2 separate regions of the Homo sapiens genome follow, and region 1 is linked to region 2. Evidence: promoter capture Hi-C in 16 types of primary human blood cells and fetal thymus (Javierre and others, 2016). All regions are on one chromosome and are shown on one strand. The core of a region is centred on a gene start or on the middle of the fragment in contact, and the rest is flanking DNA. Distances in the headings are between cores, read along the strand shown. Region 1 overlaps MIR646HG (MIR646 host gene). Region 2 holds the start of CDH4 (cadherin 4).

Region 1 (4,822 bases), core at 681-3,180, 1.0 Mb before region 2:
GAATGTAAGATAGATAAGAGGCATAGAGAATGAATCTCCACGATGGACATCTAGTTAAAGAATTCTGGGAAGGAAGAAAAGAGGCAATGTGGAGAAGGAATTGAAAAGAAAAAATCAGTGAAAATTTTCCAGAGTTACAAAAAGACACGTGTCATCATATTGAAGGTACCCACTGCATTGGGAGCAGGAGAAATAAGAAAGGCCTGCGCTGGACACATTGTGCTGAATTTTCAGAAAACCAAGGCCGAGTAGAATATCAAAAGCTCCCAGAAAGAAAAATGAGGTTTCTTGCAAAGAAACACAGTTCAGATCGGCATTAGACTTCTCACTGCCAGTGTCAGATGTTAGGAGATGATGTGGGACTTGGCAGTTCTGAGGGAAGCTGGCTTGCACGTAGGATCTTGTGTTGAGCCGAAATCACATTCAGGTTAGAGAGCAAAATGGAACCCTGCAGAGATGCAAGGACCCAAAAAGCTTGCCTTCCAGAGATACTCTGAGGATGACTCGAGTATGTCCTCAAGCACCGTGAGAGTAAATCCAAAATTAGTACATGTTTGCAACACAATTCAAATAATGCAAACATGTACAAAGTAGAAAGTGAATTTCCTCCTTTTCCTCCCACCCCCAAGATAGCCACTGTTTGTAACATCACAGTGTAGAACACATTCTTCCAGATATTATGTGTGTGTGCGTGTGTGTGTGTGTAGAACACACATCTTTACAGAAAGACCACATTCTACATGATTTTGGCAAAGCTGCTTTTGTAACTGGAAATTTTACTATGGCAAACAGTCCAGTCTCCTTACGTGCATAACTCCTGGTTCATGGCAAATTGGTTCATGGTAAATTTCACACAGGCTTCTGTGCCCTAGAGGGCCTTAATTTATTTTACCAGTCCTATTAACAATGTTTACATTGCTTTTATATTTCACTACTAAACGAACACTGCAGTGAGTATCCCTTGGATTTTTATCTCTGCATACAAGCTAATATTTATGCAAGATAAACCTCTAGAATTGGAATAATTGCTAGATTAGAGGAAATGGCCAATTAAAAAAGTGATAGATCTTACTAACTCTTCCTCCAACATAATAGTAACCATTTATTATTTATTATTTTTATTTTTTTAAAGACGAGGTCTCACTCTGTTGCCCAGGCTGGCGTGCAGTGGCGTGATCACAGGTCACTGCCGCCTGGAACTCCCAGGTTCAAGCGATCCTCCCACCTTGGCCTCCCCAGTAGCTACAACTACAGGTCCATGCCACGCCACCGTGCCAGGCTAATTTTTATTTTCGGTAGACACGGTGTCTCACTATGTTGCTCAGGCTGGTCTCAAACTCCTGGACTTAAGTAACCCTCCCACCTCGGCCTCCCAAAGTGCTGGGATTACAGATGTCAGCCACTGTGCCTGGCCCATTTATTCTTTAGATGACCGAGTTGGGCATTCAGCTCATCCAGGGATGGGTGTGTGTGTGTGTGTGCTGGGGAAGGGGTGCTGGTATCGGAGCTTCTGAATCCTGAAAGTGTCGGACGGGGCTGAACCACAGGGTTGAGCGTCCTGCCTGGGCTGTGAAGTTTCTCCTACAGATGGCGCTGTTGCCTCGCGCCTGTCACTCAGGCCGAGGGGCAGAGTGGTAATTCTAAGACAAAAAGAAATTAAGCAGCACGCAAGCGGGCTGCCGCATTTTTATGTTTATGCCGAGACGACCCAAATCTATGTTTCTTCACCTTCCTGGCTGTACAACTCAGATAACTTTGTGATCCACTCTTCTTCAGAAGGAAGAAAGAAAAGATTCTATTTGACCGTCTTTTTTGAAATCCTTAGAAATCCACCCTTTGAACATAAGTCTTTGAGAACTTCCATCAATGTGCATAGTGAGTGTGTTTCAGGAGAAGAAATAATTTAGATTTTAGCTCAGTATTTTGTTTTTCATTCTATTTCTTCTTCTAAAAACAAAAACAAAAACCTCTTGATCCAAAGGAAACACATGGAGAATGGAGAATTCCACAGCAGCCTTGCAGCATGAGCGGCTCCGGATGGCCCTGCCTCTGGGCTCCAGACCCCCAGTGTTTGGTTCCAGGGCTTCTGCCCAGTGGTGATGGGGCTGGGAGACTAGACTCACTGTGTTGGGAGAGCAGTGGGTGTCTCCTGGGCAGGAGAGCCTCATCCCTGTGCGCACCCACGCTGGGGCCTTCTAGGTGTGTGTCCCCGAGTGTGTTCAGTATGTCTCATGTGTTCAAGTGACAGACTCGAGCTGGTAAGGACCTGGAGTGCCTTTCTACCCAGGCAGAAATCAGGAATAAAGTGTGAGCTGTTGACAATCAGGCTTCCCGGACTGTAACTACCAGGTTCAGAACATGCTTGGAGTTAGGTTTTAAATGTAAGTGGTAAGACTGTCCTCTCTGCCCGTTTGAAATGAGCACAGGCCGTGTTGCAGGTCTCTGATTCGGAGTAAAGATGAGCCTGGCTTCCTCTGCGGAGGAGGCCAGAAGCAGGTGCGGAGGGCTTAGCAGAGGCCTTTGCACTCAGAGACTTGCATCTCCTGCATCTTTTTAGGCCTGGAAGGCACCCGCATGCTCCTCTCGGCGCAAAGGTTCCAGGAGGTGGTGACCTTGATGAATCTCAGTCAAGATTATGAATAATTTAGGAGTAACACAACCCAGCCAGAGAATGCTTTCCCAGACAGCAGACAGGCTGCCGTTCTTCCAGGCGTCCCTAAATGGGCATCAGATATAGGAAGACTGGTGGGCACAGCAGCGGAGGGCTTTTTTCTTGGCATTATTAAAAGCTGACGTGCTTCTTTGTGTGAGTTGCTTGTTCCACTGACATAGAATTGTTTTGTTGTCACTGTAGCTTTAGTGTACACATAAGCAAAGCAAGCTCTTTAGGTACCGTGAAAAAGCGATGGTGGATATTTCTGTGTGTCTTGAGCATAAATTGTAAGAAAACCAAACAGATTTTAAAGGGTTTGGGGGGGATGGCGGGGAGATCTGGGTGTTTGCAGAAGAAGGGACTGTGGCTGGGGGTTCTGAACAGGCACTGCCATATGTCCCAGGCCACGTTTAGTGCACAGTGATTATGGCAAAGGTGGGAACTTGAAGGGGTGACCTGGTAGCATTATGCTAGAACCTGAGTGGCAGTGGTCCTGGGCTGGACACAGGAGCCTGGCCCTAGTGAAGGATCTTGGGCAGCGGTCAGGGAGCAAAGGCCTTGGGGTCATGGCCAGAGGTCAAGAGCTAAGTGGTATCTGGGAGCCAAGAGGTCAAGGCAAAGGGCCTCCTGCCAGTGTTTAATGTTGGCCAGAAGCAAACTCAAGGCTTGGGAGGCAGGTCAGCAAAGCAGGAAGGAATGGGCCGGGGAGGACCCAGGTAACAAGAACTTGGTGGAAGCTTAGTGAGAAAGCAAGTGGGGTGGAGAGGGAGGGATTCATATCGCAGGCATCATTTCACGGTCATGTGCCATGTGGCATGGGGTGCGTGGGAGGCCTCACGTGGGTTTCTCCTGCTGGCAGGAAGGGCTCCATCCTGTGCTCAACCCTGGGGATGCTGGACAGCTTTGAGGAGGTCACAGAACCAGGCCAGTGTTCGAACTCAGGAGCCGAATGTGGAGCCTGTGCTCGTAGGTGTCGCTAATTCCACTCCTGCTTCCTGTGTCCTGTAAGCTTAAGTGACATGCTCCAGGCAGCGCTTAATCTAGGGCGTCTGGATTCCCACCCAGGCGTTTCAGACGCCCAAGCCCAGCCTCCTCGACTCAGCCATGCTGCTATGCCTCTGACTGTGGATCCCAGGCCAAAGACAGAGGTTCTAACCCCCTTCTCCCCCAAGGTGGCTACCTTAGTTAACAGCTTTCTTGCCATCTGCCCTTCCCATCTCCACCCACCCCAAGTCCCTTCCTTTCTACCTGTGGAATGTCTACTGGTCTCAGCCTCCTCCCCCGAGTGCCTCTTCCCTTCCAGCTGTCATCAGGACCATGTGACTCCTAGGACTCACTCTCTGCCTGCCCTACCTGCCCCCAACTACCTCTGCCACCTGCTGCTACCCTCCCCCAATCCATCCTGTCCATGAATACCAGGGCCTTTCTAAAGCAGTGATGGAAGCTGAACACGCCCTGCTGGAAAGGCAGTGATGGCTTCCCCTTATCCTAACTCTGCAGCCTGGATGTCACTTCCTCTCTGAATCTCATGGTCCAGCTCTTGTGGTGGGAGCTGCCTGGAGCTCCATAGAAGGATTCGAAGGCCAGGTCAGAGCTTCCTGGAGCCTAGGGCCATGATTGATTAGTAATGCCTCCAGGGCACAGGACGGGTAAGCAGGGGTGTGTTTACCATCAATCTCTCTCTCTGGCAACTTGTGGTCACTTGAGCATACTATATGGTTTTGGGAGCCTGAGTTTTGAATGTCCCTTTCATTTCATAGGATATTTTACCCTCTTTGGGTCACTTTGCAAACTCTTAATTGTCCTTCAAGACTCTTCTCTGCAGAAGTCAATCCTTTGAGGTTTTAACAGACCCCACGAGCCGTGTTATCCCCAGTTGCTGCTATAAACCCTTGGATATCTCTCTGGGCCTTCACTTCATGCCCTGCAATCGTGAACATACTCCTCCCCCATCTTTCCCTGCCTGCCGTTTACTGTGGGTTCCTGAAAGCACGGAGGGTTTTAGAAATTGCAAATTCCCAGTAGCTGGCACATAATCAATATTCAAAAATGAGAGTTGAGTTTTGGAAATCTACATCCTTTATATCTGCCTTTAAAATCAGCCGAGGAGAGCACGAGTAAATGGAGTTCTTATTTAACTGTATAAATGAATTCTTTTACCTGCTCAAC
Region 2 (5,343 bases), core at 346-2,845:
TGCAGACAAAGGTGTATCCCCAGCGACAGATATTTTAAGAAAATAGACCAGGGACACAAGACAAGAGAGCTGTCTTGGTGTCTAAAGCAGTCTTGGACAGCTTCTGATGTCGCTCGAGCAGTGGTGAAGCACCTTGAATAAGGAGGAAAGCAGAGGGGGCGTCTTCCCAAAGGACGGGCACATGGCCGAGGAATGGAATTCTCTGTCCATGAGGATTTTGGATGGATCTGTTCATGAAACCTCACTGGCTACGCAGGACCTTCGAGTGAGTCTAAACCTCCAGCCATGTCAACTGGTAACCTCTCCTTCTTCGGCTAGGTGGGGAGTGGGACAAGGCCATAACTGATAGGAGTCCAGGCTGGGGCAGATTTTGTGTCTCCTGACTAGTTCCATAGTTAAGTTGCAAAACCGAATCTCGCCTTGTGCTCTCGGATGTAGTGCTTACTCTGGTCCTCTGGGGTTATCTAAAATCTGGTTTCCTTAAGCGTAAGGCAGAGCTCTAACCGGGAGACCACCCTGCCCCCAAGGGTGGGGGTTCTGGGAGGGAGAGAGGGAAGCGGCTGCTCTGTAGCTTTCTCTACTGGCTTGCCCAAGTGGACTCTGATCTTGGAGCTCAACAGTGTCACTCAATCTTCCACCCTCTCCTTTGCAACCTATTTCTTAAACCAGAACTAATGTATTCTGGACACAGAGTCCCTGAAACCCCAGACAAAGAAAATTCGATGTATCTGAACAAACAAAACCGCGTTTCTTTAAATCTCCAAGCCAAAAGGAAAAGTGCAGAAACATTTACTCACTGTCCGACCTGTACATATATTTTACCTGATAACCCTTAAAGAAGTGCCCCCCAGTTCAGCCATCACCCATGCAGGGCAAAGGGAGCTGGAGCTGGCCCAGCCTGTCGGCGCAGACACTCCTGACAGCTCCTGTCTGGGCACTTCTTTCTTTCTTGGAGCTTCTAATTTCTTTCTTGGCTTCTGAGGCCTAACAGGGTGTTTTGATGCACACACAGGAATTACTACCGTCCCCAATCCTAGGGTACATCCCTAGCCCAGGCCAGGGCTTTGAGTTTTCCTAGGAGCGGGAGGGTCTGCAAAGCCCCACAGGCTGAAATCTCAGCGTGGCCCTCTGCTCATCTGCTCCAGGTGGAAACTCTCACCCCTGAGCTGCCCGACCTGGGTTCAAGCCCGGGTCAGGGGAGTTAGCAAGGAGACACCTGAAAAATAAAAGGACAGAATGGAAGTGCACACTCCCACCGCGGGCCCGGGCGGGAAGTCGGACTAAGACCGCGGCGGGACCGCCCCATCCAGAAAGGGTGCCCCGGGTGTGGGGGCGGAAACCCCAGCGCTGTCTTCAGTCTCCACACCCGCGCCTTTTTCCCCTGGAAAACGAGCGTCCTTGGCCTCTTCGGCCGCAACCGGGCGGCTCCAGACGTCCAGGAGGGCAGAGGCTGGGCTGGTGCGGCGCGGGGGGCGCGGGCGCGGGCTCTGCGCCTTTAAGGCCCGCGTCGGCAGAGCGAGCGCAGGGGCCGGGCGGCGGGGCGGGGCCTCGGCGGGGCGGCCGCGGCTTCACCTGCAGCTCCGAGCGCGCGGAACAGAGGCGCGGGCGGCTGCGAGGCCGGCGGACGCACCGGCCCGAGGGAACGCGCCGCCGGCCGGACTTGGCCTGGCTCCCGGAGCCGGGGCGGCGAGCGCGGCGGGCGCAGCGGGGCTGGAGGCTCCGGGCAGGCGCGGGGGAGCGGCGGCGGCGGCGGCGATCGGAGCGGCGGCGGTGGTCTCGGCGGCGGCGGCGGCGGCGGCGGCAGGGAGCGGGCTCCCGGTGCCGGGCACCGGGCGGGCGGCGGGGAAGATGACCGCGGGCGCCGGCGTGCTCCTTCTGCTGCTCTCGCTCTCCGGCGCGCTCCGGGTAAGTTGCCGCCTCCCGCCCCCGCCGTTCGGAAGCCCCGGGCAGCGGGAGGTCGTCCCCGGATCCCGCGGGGCGCTCACACACCCGGCGGGGCTCTCCCGGGCTCCCCCGCCGCGCTCCCCGCTGCATCCAGCCCGGCGCCCGCGCTCGGCGAAGCTGCCTGCGGTCGGCAGGAGCGGGAAGCCGCCTGGGCAGCGGGGAGCGGCGGAGCAGGGTGGGAGTGGGGCTCGGTGGAGGACCCGGGGAGCTCCGCCTGCACCGGACCCGCCGAGCCTCCCTCGAACGCCCAAAGCCCGTAGCCGCTACCCGGAGCTCGGCTTGCCTGCATGGGGCAGGCTTCCACTGGCGGAGCCGGCGCGCCCTCCATCGCCCGGGAGCCGCGCGCCGCGGGAGTTGCCGAGCCCAGCCCCGGCCGTGGCTGAAGGCGTGGGGCGCCCGGCGGCTGCGGGCCAGGGATCCGCGAGTGCGGGGCGCCTGCCCGACCTCTCCTGCCCAAGGCCTGGGGGTCCGTCTAGCGGCGCCGCTCAGTTCTGTGGGTGCCGGCAGGACCCGCGCTGCGGGTGGGCGGCGGGGTAGGACTGCGGGGCACTCTCACCCCCGAGCCCTCGGCGGGGCTGGAGCCTGCGTGTCCGGCGGGGCCCCGGGGGCTGGGAGCTGGGCCGGGCTTGGGCCGGGAAGCCGGACGCCGGGCGGGCGCGGCGCGGGAGGGCGCCCCGGGAGGGCGAGCGGGTCTCCCGCTGCCTCTGCAGAGCCCCGCGGGCCGGATTGCCAGCTTTGCTCTGCGCCTGGCGAGGTGCGCGGCCCGCGGGGGCAGAGAGCGCGGCGGCTCCGGGGGCGCCCCTGGGCGGAGGCGGAGGGGCGGCGGGAGTTGCAGGAACCCCCTCTCGTGGCCGATCGGCCTCGCTGCCTTCTCCCGGGCAGCGCTGTTGTAACCTCGGAAATAAACAAGTGCCAGCGGCGGGAGGCCCGCTCCGAGGCCGCGGGGCGCTGGGGGACGCGCTGGGCACACGCTTCGGGCGGGCGGAAACTTTCCTGGGCGAGTTGAGCCTCCCACCGGGCTGCGGGTGCGATTTGGAGCTTCGTGGCCGATGAAGAAAGCCGCGGTTTAGAGCTTTTCGTAAGGAATGACCCTGCGTCCCGCTCTCCTCCCTCGGTGCTGGGGGTAGAGGGGCGCCCTCCGCGGTGCCGGCGTCGGGAAGCCTGGAGCTCCGGGCTGGGGGCGGCCTCCGGAGTCGAAGCATGGGCGGGCGACGGCAGCGCGCGGAGCTGGAGGAGGCGGCGGGCGGGAGGCGCCACTGCCCGGTGCGGGCTGCACCCGAGGCTTCCTGCGCTCGCCGGGGAGCCAAGCACCGCTGTGCTCCTGCTCCTTCAGCGGGGCTGGCTTCCCGCTTGCACACACTGCCTCTCCCTCCACCACCTCCTCCTGCCTGTCACGCCCCCTCCCAGAAGCTTGGTCGGAGGGCCCTGTCGTCCACCCCATCCTTCCCTGGCCCTGTGCCATGGGCTCTAGACTTCCCCACTGAGCAGGAAAGGCGAGCGAGCTCCGGAGGACAGGAGGAGACCCCCTTTCCGGTCAGTTAGGGGAGCCGTCTCCCTGCCTGGGCTGGAGATGGGGGCTCCGAGGGTGAAAATGCGGGCTGAAGACTAGAAGGTGGAAGCGCCCCCACTGCCTCCTCACCCCAGCCACCGGCAGCCTCCCGCAGAGCTGCCTTCTTCGACCGGCTCCGGACCTAGTCCTAGAGAATCTTCTTCCTTTCTCTCCTCTTTCTCCTCCCTCCCGGTGACCTGGAGAGGAGACAAGAAGCTGCCTCCTCCGCCTTACCAAGAGCGCAGAGCGGTGGGCCTAAAGCGCGAATGGTCTGAGCAGAGCCGCCCACACTTTGGCCTCCCTGCCCTTAGTGGCTTCGGGAGCAGCGGCTGAAGTCTTCTGTCTCTGCCTTTTGGTCATTTCTCAGGCGTCTCCTCTGCCAATAAGGCCCTGGCCGGCCTGGCTTCCCCAACAGTCCGTCCTTCACTCCCTGCCTGCTGTGTGTGGGGCTGGGGAAGGATGCTCCTGGTCTGTAGCCTGGAGAGTGCTCCCTAAAGTCCCCAGAGAGCAGAGGAGCAGACGGGGTATCGCGTCTGGGTGGAGACGGTGGCCTGCCAGCCTTTCTCTCTTAGCCAGAGACCTTTTACACAGCAGGCCCTGGATGAATGTTGGTTGGATTAAATTTCTGTGAACTTATTGTTTTACACTCTCCCCTTTGTGTTCTCAGGCCCATAATGAGGATCTTACAACTAGAGAGACCTGCAAGGCTGGGTTCTCTGAAGATGATTACACGGCATTAATCTCCCAAAATATTCTAGAAGGGGAAAAGCTACTTCAAGGTAAGGCGGGGTGTGGAGGGGTGGGAGTGAATTGCTGCCATGCTTTTCCTTGGGGAAACATGTAGATGGGAGAGGCAAGGCTTGCCTCATCTTTGTGCTCTCTGTGAAATGATGGTGGTGAAGTCCACGAGGTGCAAATTGGTTGACCTGAAAGGCGTTTTGCATAACAGGTGAATGATTCAGAACCCCGGTCATTTTTGAGTGAAGTGAATCATTTCCTGGGCAGCAAACTGTAATTCGGATGTAACATCACCCAAATAGTGTGCAGAGAGAGACCTTCTTACCAAGTATTTTTATGCATGAAGTTCTGGATACTTAAATTATCCCTGCTTTGAAATGTATGATAAAGCAGACGATGTTGTTGGAAATGCGGTAAATAAGCCCACAGACGGTCTGTTCACAAATGTGGCATTCATTTTCATTACTGCCCCACTGACAACACGAAAACACACATGCAGGAGGGAACTACCAATTAGCTTTATCGTAATTGCAGGATTATATCCACACTTGTGATGGGAAAGTCAGAGACAGCTTCAAAACTCAGATGACAGTAGATCATCCTGCTTATTGGTCTGTTTCCCTTTCAAGACAAACTAATTAGACTTTATATTTGCATAGGAGGGGACATAAATCAGTTCTGTGCCATGAGCACCTTGGCTGTGAGCCTTTCCTCTCTGCATCAGTTTCCTGGAAGTGGCAGCCTTTGAATTGATTTCAAAGCGATAGAGGAAGAGGACTTTTGATAAAGTATCGAAGCTAAATTTCCACATTCAGGACTGTTGACTGCCCTACCGGTTTTGTGTCCCAGGGAATGTAAACTTTTCCCTCCAGAACTGACAGCGGTTCCTGTGTATGTGTGTGTGTGCATGCATGTGCGTGAACTCGCTCACGCTTATAGTGAAGTGATTTTTCAGATCCTCGCCCTTCAAGACAGAACTTGTTGACGTGCCTTGTTGATTCCTGGTTATGTGGATAGGATTTTTATTTTGCACCGAATCCAAGTTTTCTGACTTAGTTTTTTTATCTAAACTGTGATACTACTGACTCATTAATCATCAAAAAAATAAAAAA

What was found. Contacts are between HindIII fragments. The CHiCAGO score rates a contact against its expected background, and 5 or more counts as called.
Region 1: a fragment that was not itself captured here is called in contact with the fragment with the promoter of CDH4 in region 2 in 4 of 17 cell types (M0 macrophages, endothelial precursors, naive CD8 T cells and 1 more); the score reaches 8.2 in M0 macrophages.

The regions. Positions count from the first base shown.
Region 1 is chr20:60,209,689-60,214,510 of GRCh38, forward strand. All of the region lies in intron 3 of MIR646HG (MIR646 host gene), which reads left to right. Among named protein-coding and RNA genes, the nearest start is that of MIR646HG, 74 kb to the left of the region's middle. RefSeq lists a silencer at 1,452-1,691 and an enhancer at 3,563-4,063. The HindIII fragment of the contact is 2,916 bases long and covers 473-3,388 here.
Region 2 is chr20:61,250,666-61,256,008 of GRCh38, forward strand. It overlaps CDH4 (cadherin 4), which reads left to right and starts at 1,596. Exons shown (of 16, transcript NM_001794.5): 1 at 1,596-1,905; 2 at 4,161-4,272. The coding sequence starts at 1,849. RefSeq lists an enhancer at 3,700-4,392. The HindIII fragment of the contact is 4,745 bases long and covers 1-3,352 here.